Regions from separate parts of the Homo sapiens genome. Here all the other regions are linked to region 1. The links are contacts of gene promoters, found by promoter capture Hi-C in blood cells and fetal thymus (Javierre and others, 2016). All regions are on one chromosome and are shown on one strand. Each heading gives the region's core, a stretch centred on a gene start or on the middle of the fragment in contact. The rest is flanking DNA. Distances are from core to core; before and after follow the strand shown.

Region 1 (3,910 bases), core at 1,036-3,535:
TACCTTACTTTCTCTATCTACAGGCTGCCTCCCCTGACATGGGAAGACAGACATCGAGGAGATCTGCTGGGCCCACAGGAGCTCCAAGGGAAATCACAGAAATGCTCGCCTTATATATAAAACTGCTTTATTAAAAAGTCAGCTATTAGGAAAACAAAGCCCTTACAAGGGTTCTATCAAAAAGTACAAATTTTAAATAAATGCATCAGAAAAATGGCAGCCAGATATACCAGCCACAGTCACAACCTCAAAGGCCTTGTGGGGAAGGAAGGGAGAATTAGGGAGGAGGTTCCGAGAACTCAAGGAAGAGGCTGGGCACAGAGGGTCTTTGGGTGCCTGCAGAGCTGGGTCCTGGAGCTACCAGGCAAGAACCCTGCTTCCGTTTTCCTTTCCTTGGAAAAATGTAAAGAACTGGCAGGTGTAGGAAATTTTGAGACTGGAGCAGAAAGGCACAAAAGTCATTTATAAGGTATGATTGCTCACTCTAGTCCTGAGGCACATGGGGTGGATAAATGGGGGATCAGAGCCACAGGGTCCCTGGCTCTGGTCATGCTTGCCCCTGGCTGGTACCATCTCTGAGTTTGGCCACAGGTTAAATTAAGGTAGACCAAGTGGACTGCATAATCCTGGCAGCCCGGGGTCTGGAGCCAGTCTTTAGATCAGATGTGTTGCTTCATTGGCAAACTGGTGTCTGCCCCCCAAGAGATCCCCCCAATGAGGAGCAGCAGGTCTCCTGCCTAGCCCTGTCCTCTGAGTCACTGTGGGTGCCCACCCTGGACAAGGAACTTCTGAGGGCAGTCTCTGCCATCCAGGATCCTGAGAAGCCCCAAGCCCCAGAGCCAGAGTTTCTCCGAATGACAGGCAGAAGCACAGAAAGCTGGCGTTGAAACCAGTCCCCACCAGCTGCTGGCCCCACACCCATGGTCACTGCTGACACGCCTCCTTGGTGACATTAGGCAGTGGGTAGGCAAAGAGGGAGAAGTCCAGGATATACTTAGGCAGCACATCCTGCAGCAGGGCCCGGGGGGCACTGCACAAGTGGTAATGCAGGCTTTCGGGGCTGGCTGGCCGGTACCAGGCCTGGCGAGCTGGAAATCGGACGTGAGGTGGTGCCCGTACCCACTCCAGCACCTGATTTGCATCAGCCTCCAGCCTCTCATAGGAGCCCACAAAGTCATAGTGCACGGCACAAGGCTGGCACAGGTGGTACACGGGCATCCAATGCTCATTCATGCGCTCAGGGTCCTCATCCACCAGGTATCTCAGGAACTCGGGGAATGTGACATCGTCGCCTGCAGGGCTGGGCCCCGCTCCAGCCCTGTACCGCCTCACTATCTCAGCCCCATAGCGTTGCTGGTACTCTCGGATCTCGCCAAACTTGTTGCGGTAGGCAGAGAGGAGGCGTTCCAAGGGCTCCCGCACAAACAGGAACTTAAAGTAGTGCTGCAGGCGGTAGCGAATCTCCTCAGGCCGCAGGTCGGCCAGGAACACCAGGTCACTGCGGTGGTCCATCTTGAGGCGGACGTCCACGCTGTCCAGGACGCCTGCCAGCACCTTCATCACCCGCTTCCAGTTAGAGCAGGCCACCTTGGGGACGTAGCAGTAGAGGAAGCGGTAACGGTCACTTACGAGGATGTGGCGCAGCAGGGTGCGCCGCTGCCCCACCGGCAAGTCCCAGGGGTCCCGGGGCATGCCTGGCTGTCCGCACACCGCCCGCAGGGTCCTGTTCCGGACGTCCTGCCGCACTTGCAAGTCCGCGTCCCCAGCCCTGAGGGACAGGCCCCCAGGCTTGGGGGCTTTCCCGCGCCAGGCTGTGCCCTCGCGGCCGGGCGGGTGCAGGGGCAGGGGCTTCATCTCGGCCAGGATGCCCCGCTCGATCATGAGCAGCAGCCCGCTGGAGGCCACGATCACCGCAAACATCAGCATGGACGGCAGCAGCAGGGGCGGCCCACCCAGCCCCGCCCGGGCCCTGCCCAGAGGGGCCCGCCTCAGCGCCCGGCCCAGGGGCTCGGCGCCATTTGGGGCCGCCAGCGGGGTCAGCGGGCGGGGGAACATGGTGCTCAAGGGGTGGGGGCCTGCGCGGGCCCGGCCGATCCGAGGGCGGCCTGGAAGGCGGGCTCGGGCTGGGGGCGGGAGGAGGGTCTGGGACCGGGGGTAGTTGGGGAGGGGAGGGCAGGGGACAGCCCTGGCGCGTGTAGGGGTGGCCGGCTCCCGGGCTGCGGCGCCGAAGCGGGCGGCGGGCGGCGGGCGCGGCGAGGGACCCGGGCCGGATGTCCCGCCCGGCCGCTCTCCACCCCCGGCCTCGCAGTGACACAGGCGCGGGGGCGGGCCCACGCCGGGGGCGGGGAGAGGGGCGGGCGCCCCTGCGGGGCGCGGGCTTGGGAGGGCGCACGCGGACCCCTACCCGGAAGAGGGCGCCTGAGTCAGGGCCACCCCTGTCCTCTGGGCTTGGGGACAAAAGCTCCTGAGACCTCGAAGGCAGAAAAGACTCGAGGCTGCTCTCCTGCAGCGTGTGTCCTCAGGGAAGTGGACAAGGGGGATTCGCCACAAACTCAGGCCTGTCCTAGCCCTTCCTCCAGCAACGGGTCTGGAGGCAGGGAGGCGGGCAGCGCTCTCTCCGAGTCCAGACGTGCCGGAGGCTGGTCTTTCCAGCTGGAAGCGGAGCCCTCGGTGTGCTCCCCCTTGCCACCCTTAACTCCCTCCGTCCTGCAGGTCGTGGCCACTCCAGGAAGGAGAAGCAGAACTGTCAGACACTGACCAGTCTCCATGGTGACCCTTGTGTTTAGCAATACCTGGGGACTGACTACAGTGCTTGTCCACTGGGTAATGCTGAAATGTCTGGAAATGGAGTCTCCCCTCCTCTGCCTTCTCCTCATGAGGCAGTGGGATAACTGGGCACTCTGGGGAGGGTCTGACACATTGGTCCATCAGCTGCTGGTGTGGCCAACACACATTTGGAAGGGTGAGGAGCTGGGGGCACAAAACAGCAGGGAAACAGCACGTAGTCTCCTTGCCTGGAGCTAGATGTGTGCTCCATGGCACCAGGCTGGTCACTTGGGCGGACAGCAGACCCGAAGTGCTTTGGATGTCAGCAACCACCATTTCCCACTGGGAACCTGGCTCAGTAGCCAGACTTGGTCCAGCTATGTGCTTGCTGCCTGCAGAGAGCCAGCAAGCCTCTGAAGCAGCAGAGGAATATGATTAGAGCCCAAGTGTACTGAGGACAGCGCCCACTAAGTGTTTTATATTCATTATCTCCTTTAGTTGTTACAGCCACCCTGGCAGGGAGCTAGTGTGGACATTCCCTTTGTACAGCTGAAGTAACAGAGGCTCAGGGAAGATGTGACTCAGTATGGGTGGTTCTGAGTCTAAAACCTAAATTTCTAATCACGGCCCTTCAGAGATTAAAGGAGCATATCATGGAATGGCTAGAAGGGAGGAAGCAGCTGACTCGAGGGCGGACTGTACAGAGCAGGTGATGGAAAATAGAAGATACCAGTGGGAGAATGGAGCTACCAGTGATCAGATGAATTCAGAAGGGTGAGGGGACTTGAGGGATGAGGTGATACTAGAGGGCTCACTGATGACCCCACAATCCCAGCAACAGGAAAAGCACACAGATGAGCCAGGGGAAGGAACGGTAAAGCCTTGCAGCCTTCCAGCTCTCCAGGGCAGGCTCTCCACATCTGATTGCCCCAGTGCATCTGCAGGCTACCACCTGTCCATTTGCTGCACCAGAAGTTTGCGTGAAGGTTCTGCCTTGTCTACACTGCTCCTTGCTTCCAATAATCCTAAAGGTATACATTTCTGGTGATAGGATTTTCTATTAAAATCATATTTTCCAGTAAGTATGTCCTTTAAACCAGGAGAGGAAAAAAAGGCCTTAGACCTTTAAAAATCTTTTGATAAT
Region 2 (3,910 bases), core at 854-3,353, 320 kb before region 1:
CCAGCCGAGAAGTTTATGTTTTTTAATCAGCTGATGATTTCCTAGAGAGGAAGTTGGTGCAGAAAATAACAGTTTTTCCAGAGAGGAGCAAGAGTCGGCTAAAAATATATATTAAAAATAAACTTACGGTGGCTCATGCCTGTAATCCGAGCACTTTGGGAGGCCGAGGCGGGGGGCTCACCTGAGGTCAGGAGTTCGAGACCAGCCTGGCCAACACGACGAAACCCCATCTCTACTAAAAATACAAAAAATTAGCTGGGCTTGGTGGCAGGCGCCTATAATCCCAGCTACTCAGGAGGCTGAGGCAGGAGAATCACTTGAACCCGGAAGGCAGAGGTTTCAGTGAGCCGAGATCGTGCCACTGCACTCCAGCCTGGGCGACAGAGCAAGACTCCGTCTCAAAAAATAAATAAATAAATAAATTTAATAAAGAGAGTAACCGTTTTTATTTTTGTTTTTTGTTTTTTTAAAGATGGTCTCGCTTTGCCCCAGCCAAAGTACAGTGGTGCAATCATAGCTCACTGCAGCCTTGACTTCCTGGGCTCAGGTGATCCTCCCACCTCAGCCTCCTGAGTAGCTCGGCTTACAGGTGTGCACCACCATGCCAGGGTAATTTTTGTATTTTTTGTAGAGATGGGGTCTCACCATGTTGCCCAGACTGGTCTTGAACTCCTGGGCTCAAGTGATCCTCTGGCCTTGGCCTCCCAAAGTGCTGGGATTACAGGCATGAGCCACTGTGCCCAGCCGAAAGTAACAGGTTTTGTTCTTGTTTTTGTTTTTTTTTCTGAGATGGAGTCTCATTCTATCCCCCAGGCTGGAGTGCAGTGGCACAATCTCAGCTCACTGCAACCTCTGCCTCCTGGGTTCAAGCAGATCTCCTGCTTCAGCCTCCTGAGTAGCTAGGATTATAGGCATGCACCACCATGCCTGGCTAATTTTTGTATTTTTAGTAGAGATGGGATTTCACCATATTGGTCAGGCTGGTCTCAAACTCCTCACCTTGTGATCCGCCCGCCTCGGCCTCCCAAAGTGCTGGGATTGAAAGTAACAGTTTTTATAACTATCTTTAATGTGTAAGGCTAAGAATTGTTGCTTGTTGCATCTACCATGTGTTGAGAATAGATGGAAATCATGATACAGATGTTAGAATTGTAAATGTGCCTTCATAATCACCTTTGTACTTATTAGCAGTTATAGTTAAGAAAGTGGACTTTGGAGTCAGATTGCCTGGATACTTGCCCCATGACCTAGTTTGTGACCTGGAGCAAATATTTAACCGCTCTGTACCTTGGTTTCCTCGTCTGCAAAACGAGGATGATGATAGTCTGTCCTTGATCGCATTGTTTTGAGGCTTGATCCACGTAAGCATTTGGCACAGTGCCTGGCATAGAGTGAGCGCTCACTATGAGTCAGTTCTTGCTGTTTTCATTGTGAGTCCATCTTCCTTACACTGTAAGCTTGGAAAGTCAAATATGAATCGCCCCCAGCTTGTGTCCAAGGCTGCCCTCCACCTGGACCCCTTCTTTACTCACTCCATTCCTGACACATTAGTGCTGAGTCACCTAACAGCAAATCAGTGATTCTCAATTGAGGCAGTGGTCAGGGTAGGAAGGCGGTGGAGGATCAAGTAGAACAAAATTGAGGATCACCAGAGTTCAACATTTAGTTCACATCAACAAATGAATGGAGTTTCTCACCATGGACAAGGTACTGTTTGAGCATGGTAGGACTTAGAGCTGAGTAAGATACCACTTCTGACTTCTGACAGCTCACACAGTTATATACTCAGTGAACGCTGAGGTGCAATGAATGAGGTTCAGTAAGAGTATATAAGAAAATGCTGTAAGAATAAAGAGGAAGACATGATTTATATGACTGGTGTTTTTATGCAAGATCTTGAAGGGAGAAAAGAATATATTGCAGCAGTTAGAAGGGATCTTCATGGGCTGGGCACGGTGCTCACGCCTGTAATCCCAGCACTTTGGGAGGCCGAGGCGGGCAGATCACGAGGTCAGGAGATCGAGACCATCCTGGCTAACATGGTGAAACCCCGTCTCTACTAAAAATACAAAAAAATTAGCCAGGCGTGGTGGCGGGTGCCTGTAGTCCCAGCTACTCGGGAGGCTGAGGCAAGAGAATGGCGTGAACCCGGAGGCAGAGCTTGCAGTGAGCTGAGATCGTGCCATGCACTCCAGCCTGGGTGACAAGTGAGACCATCTCAAAAAAAAAAAAAAAAAAAAGAAGGGATCTTCATGGTCATTTACTGTCTTATTTTGTAGACTGGAGAATGGAGGTTCAGAGAGGTTACAAAATTTTCCACGACCATCCAGCGAGTGAGCATCAGCCTGAGACTAGAGCTCCAATCAAGATCCTTTCCACTTTTGTGCAGCCCACATGTGTATTTCTGGGGGTCTCACTCTGTCCTCCAGGCTGGGACCACAGGAGTGCACCACCACGCCTGGATAATTTTTAGAAAAATATTTTGTGGAGATGGGGTCTCCCTATGTTGCCCAGGCTGGTCTCGAACTCCTGGGCTCAAGCAGTCCTCCTGCCTCGGCCTCCCAAAGTGCCAGGATTACAGGCATGAGTCAGCATGTCCAGCCTGTCTTTCTCTTCTGTCTGTAGCAGCCTTACCTTTCATTTGAAGCCCTTTGAAGGGTGTGTAGCTCATTCATCTTGGCAGGTAATTACCTGGGGAAGCCAGATGTTTGAAAATGCATTTTGATTGTTTTTCAAGACTCAAAGCTTAAGTCTATTTATCAGGAAAACTACCAGGGAAACTTAATATTGACATTTTCTGGGAGGGAGGTTATATTATAGCATATAAATTACTGCAAGGAAAAGGCTATTTTATCTTTAAGCTAGCTATTATCTTGGTACCACTAGCTACATATTTCTTTTATACCCTAGAAGGTGGTGCATCAACATTGTTTCTTAAAAATTTAAGAAGACTTGGTTTTTGAGGACAGAGGACAGACAAGGGCTTGAAGGAGCAACCGGGGCATGCAGATGTGGAGTGCCTAGCATGACAGGGAATGGGCATGGCCTAGGGTTTGCTGAGGAGGTCGCAGGAGATGAATCTGAGAAATGTGTGTTTGGGCCTCTAGGCCCTAGGGTGGTTACACTTGATTCTGTGAGCATCTGGGGGCCATTTCTGGATCTGAAGTGTGCCTGATGTAATCTGCTGTCTCCAAAGGGGGCTTTTCCCAGAACCTCTTATATCTAGACCAGGTGCTGAGGCCTTGAGGTTGGGTACTGAGCCTGTTTGTTTTGTTTTGTTTTGTTTTTTTCAGATGGAGTTTCGCTCTTGTTGCCCAGGCTGGAGTGCAATGGCGTGATCTTGGCTCACTGCAACCTCCGCCTCCTGAGTTCAAGCGATTCTCCTGCCTCAGCCTCCCCAGTAGCTGGGATTACAGGCGCGTGCCACCACACCCAGCTAATTTTTGTATTTTTAGTAGAGACAGGATTTCACCATGTTGGCCAGGCTAGTGTCGAACTCCTGACCTCAGGTGATCCGCCCACCTCAGCCTCCCAAAGTGCTGGGATTACAGGTGTGAGCCACTGCGACCAGCTGCCTGTTGTTTTTTATTTTATTTTATTTTAGTTTTTTGAGATGGAGTCACTCTGTCACCCTGGCTGGTGTGCAGTGGTGCGATCTTGGCTCACTGCAACCTCCCCCTCCCAGGTTCAAGCAATTCTTCTCCCTCAGCCTCCCGAGTAGCTGGGTCTACAGGCACACGCCACCATACCCAGTTAATTTTTGTATTTTTAGTAGAGATGGGGTTTCACCATGTTGGCCAGGCTGGTCTCAAAACTTCTCACCTCAGGTGATCGCCTGCCTTGGCCTCCCAAAGTGCTGAGATTACAGTCATGAGCCACCGCACCCAGCTTTTTAAAATTTTTTTTGTAG
Region 3 (3,910 bases), core at 690-3,189, 300 kb before region 1:
CTAAGTAAGTAAAGTGCACAAACTTCTCTGGACTAAGAGAAGGGTTTCTCACAGCAGCTGGCCTGGCACATGGTTGCAAGCAGGTTTCTCTTGGAAGGTAACGCCCTCACACAATCCAGGACCCGGGGTGATGCCCTAACACTCTGCCCATCCCTGTAGCCAGGTCCACAGTGAGGCTTGGTAAATGTGAGTTGAGGTGGGAGGTAAAGGAGACAGTGAGAACCTGAGCTCAGTGTGTGAAAAGAATCAAAGCCAAAGCAAGTCAAGCTGTGGTGCCAAACCACAGGAATCGAGCCCAGCAGCTCCGCCCATTGGCACCCCTGACACATGGCCCTGGGCTGCTGACATAAGCACCACCCACACCCTGTTCACTAGAGAGAACCAGCTTGGTCAGTGTGAGCTGTTTTTAACTCTTCCAGACCCCTGGCCACTCTGCTAGACCCCATACTTCTGTGCTGTGATTTTTCTCAATGGAAATTGACTCGGGGGCGTGGGCATGGAGGGAGGGGGCAGAGTTACTGTATGATCTCGTCGTGATTGAGACTTTGGGGAGGCAGCCAGAGCTGGGGTGGGCCGAGGCCACATGGAAACTGAACAGACCAGCAGTCTGGTCATTCAACCCTTGTGTCTAGACCTGGAGGCCCGGGAGCGGCAGGCCCAGGCCCAGGAGAGTGAGGAGGAAGAGGAGAGCCGGAGCACCAGGACACTAGAGCAAGAGGTGAGCACTCAGGCACACTGGCCAGAAGGCCACCTGCAGGAGGAGGAGGTGGGGGAGGATGGACCTGGTGGTCGCCGTGGCTAGAGAGGGCATGCTCTTTGCACCTTCAGTGGGAGCTGGGTGATTTGTCCCACCCACAGGTTGCTGAGCCCTAGCTTGCAGGTGGAAGCTCCCAAGGACTTTTTACAAGGTGAGCCAGCCTGGAATTGGACCTGCACAGAATTGTCACCCCCACCCCCTGCTCTGCAGATCGAACGCCTGAGAGAAGAGGGTTCCCGGCAGCTGGAGGAACAGCAGAGGCTCATCCGGGAGCAGATACGCCAGGAGCGTGACCAGAGGTTGAGAGGTGCAGGTCTATCACCCCGCCTATCTCCCCTCCAAGGTAGCTCCAGATTGCTCAGAGCGGCCACACTGGCTGTTCGGTGGAGCTGCTGTGGAGGCTTCTACCTGCTGGAACCCTGGGGTCACCCTATGGTACCTTACTCTGACACATGCCACTTATCCCGTCTTCCTCCCAGTTCTCTGGGGCCTATTTGCTTTTTACTCTGCCTGAGATCTCCTGGCCACATTTGGCTTTGTCCCAAGCAGAGGTGGCCTTGTTTTGGGACAGATCACCACGGGGAGGGGCCCTGGGACACTTTGTGCCCGTAGAACCTCATGGTCTGTCTCTCTGCCTCCTGTCCCTAGAAAGTGTTCCTAGCTCTCCATTCAGAGAGTGCTGACAAGTGGCCTTCAGGAGGCAGCTGGGTAGACCACCCCTGGGGTGGCAGCTTCTCTGGGGATGGGCATCTGCTTTCCCCACCAGGCCCTCACCAGAGCTGGGCAGGCATTGCCCTTGGTCAGGAGTGACCCTTTCCAGACCCTTCTTGCTCTGGGCTGCATTTCCTTTGGGAGAATCTCTGACTCCCTCATATTCTACTTTTCTTCTTTTCCCAATATTTCTAGGAAAGGCAGAAAATACTGAAGGCCAAGGAACCCCCAAACTAAAGGTGAGCCTGGGCAGGATCTGTGGGCCACCTCACACTCACACCGCCTCCCCTCAGCAGGAATAGATGCTTCCTGTGGCTCGAGGGTTTCTGGTGGGGCTGCTGGATCTGCGTGGAGCCCGCACCATTACCACCTCCCTCCATGCTCCAGCCGCCCGGAGATCAGAGCTTGCCACGAAAGGCTGCTTTTAGCCCTGATCACAGGGCAGAGGATTCTCTAGAAGCCCTCTCAGGAGAGGGTCTTCTGGGCGGGAAGCGTCCCTGGGGTGAGCAGGCCATCCTGCCTTCAAGTTCCCAAGGGGAAAATGTTTCTGGTGGCACTCCCCAGATTGCAGGAGCCTTGGAGGCTTGGAGGGTGGGAGGATGTCTGCTCAGACTGTCAAGCTCAGTCGTGGGGTGAGGTACTGTTCAGCCAAGAATCAGTGTTTCATGAGGCTCTCTTTTCAGCTAAAATGGAAGTGCAAGAAGGAGGATGAGTCAAAAGGTGGCTACTCCAAAGACGTCCTCCTACGGCTTTTGCAGAAGGTCGGCCCTGTTGACGTCCACTCTTTCCTATCATCTCAGTCCACGTCTCAGTCCACACCCTAGGTCTCTGCTCTCAATGCCTGAACTTCCCTTAACATATCTACTTGCTTTTTTTTTCTGTCTCATAGACCATGGGACGTCTTAGAGACTTCTCCCCAGGCTACAGCCTTGCTTTCACTTGTGTGGCCATGTGCCCCCTTCCAGCCCGCTGTCCTTTGCTACCTCGGTCTAACCCTTACCCTTAGAAGCAAAGAGCTTGGTTGAGTGGGTTGGGAGGGACGAGGTGCGTATCTGGCACGAAAGCCCCGTCCTTTTCACCACGTTCAACTAGCAAGGACGCTATGCAATGAAATGTGTCAGTCTAAGTCACCAGGGCTTTGCTCATCATTCCTTTGCTGCTCTGTGTTCCTAGAAAAAAATTTCTTTCTTTCCTATCTCTGATCTCACTTCACTAAGATAAGTAGGTGGGGCAAGAAGTTATCTCCCAACTGAAAATGCCCCATGGGCCTCAAGGTAGCCCAGGCTTGTCTCTGGCATGACCTGGGCCATCCTGAAGGCCAAGTCATGCTTATTAGGACCCCTTTGTCCCCACAGTATGGTGAGGTTCTCAACCTGGTGCTTTCCAGTAAGAAGCCAGGCACTGCTGTGGTGGAGTTTGCAACCGTCAAGGCAGCGGTGAGTGCTGCATGAGGCTTGGGGGCCCCTCGTGGCCCTGTCATTCTAGGGCAGGGACCCAATTCTGTGGGCCCTCTGAGTTAGGTGGTCTGCACTCCTAGGGAATCTCCAGGCCAGCTTAGAGCCAAGGCTCTTCCCAGGGGCCCCTGACTCCTGGAAATAGAGGCACCGTGTGTGAAGGGATGGATGGGGGGTGCTCTGGGGAGAAAGGAGAGCACAGACTTGACTCTGCTCCCTGCTGGTGCCTTCACACCCTCCACCTGCACCCCTTGGGGCTGTGAGCCCCAGCACTGCCTTCCCACCCTTTGTGCTCCTCGCCTCCCCACATCAGAAAGCTCCCCCAACCCCTCTCCCGCAGGAAAGGCCAAAGCGTTAACACCCATCACTTGAAGGCTGCTGAGGTTGGCATCTCTGCTTAGAGGGCTAGAACGCTGGTTCCGTTCTCTCTGTGGGGGTAGAGAGAGCCTCTTTATAGCTGACTCAACGGATGGGACAGGACTAGATGCTGTGTTTGGCAGGAGCTGGCTGTCCAGAATGAAGTTGGCCTGGTGGATAACCCTCTGAAGATTTCCTGGTTGGAGGGACAGCCCCAGGATGCCGTGGGCCGCAGCCACTCAGGACTGTCAAAGGTGAGGAGTCAGGCCTCGCCCGGCTGGGCGCTCAGGTCTCGGAGCTCTTCCTACCTGGGCTCCTCTCAGGCTCTTTCCTTCCAAATTCAGATCTTGGGGCCTAGAGTGAGCTTGGCAGGTCCACCAACCCAGGCAAGAGGGGCTGTGATTTCACGTTGAACCCTTTTCCTCTCTGAGGGCCAGAGAGGCCCCACCCACACTGTATTCTTAGACCTTGCTTTCTCTCCATATCTGGCCTCCTGTTGGGACTCTCCTTCTCACCAAAGGGATCTTCCTGGCCCTCAGGTTGCTTGGTTGTGGTGTGTGAAGCATTTGGAGCTTAGACGACCCAGTGCTGCAGAGAAGGGGCAGGTGACTAGGACAGCCACTTCCTTCCC

The links. Contacts are between HindIII fragments. The CHiCAGO score rates a contact against its expected background, and 5 or more counts as called.
Region 2: a contact is called between a fragment that was not itself captured here and the fragment with the promoter of CHST14 in region 1, in 1 of 17 cell types (naive B cells). The highest score is 5.7, in naive B cells.
Region 3: a fragment that was not itself captured here is called in contact with the fragment with the promoter of CHST14 in region 1 in 2 of 17 cell types (naive B cells and total B cells); the score reaches 7.4 in naive B cells.

Annotation. Positions count from the first base shown.
Region 1 is chr15:40,469,359-40,473,268 of GRCh38, reverse strand. It overlaps CHST14 (carbohydrate sulfotransferase 14), which reads right to left and starts at 2,285. Exons shown (of 1, transcript NM_130468.4): 1 at 111-2,285. The coding sequence starts at 2,055. The coding sequence ends at 925. RefSeq lists enhancers at 518-1,421, 2,704-2,813 and silencers at 1,874-2,123, 2,174-2,413. The HindIII fragment of the contact is 28,829 bases long and covers 1-3,910 here.
Region 2 is chr15:40,791,226-40,795,135 of GRCh38, reverse strand. All of the region lies in intron 1 of DNAJC17 (DnaJ heat shock protein family (Hsp40) member C17), which reads left to right. Among named protein-coding and RNA genes, the nearest start is that of ZFYVE19, 14 kb to the left of the region's middle. RefSeq lists a silencer at 1,251-1,545 and an enhancer at 1,622-2,821. The HindIII fragment of the contact is 1,288 bases long and covers 1,460-2,747 here.
Region 3 is chr15:40,773,350-40,777,259 of GRCh38, reverse strand. It overlaps DNAJC17 (DnaJ heat shock protein family (Hsp40) member C17), which reads left to right. Exons shown (of 11, transcript NM_018163.3): 5 at 633-718; 6 at 968-1,064; 7 at 1,664-1,707; 8 at 2,152-2,229; 9 at 2,824-2,904; 10 at 3,423-3,533. Among named protein-coding and RNA genes, the nearest start is that of C15orf62, 5.3 kb to the right of the region's middle. The HindIII fragment of the contact is 7,655 bases long and covers 1-3,910 here.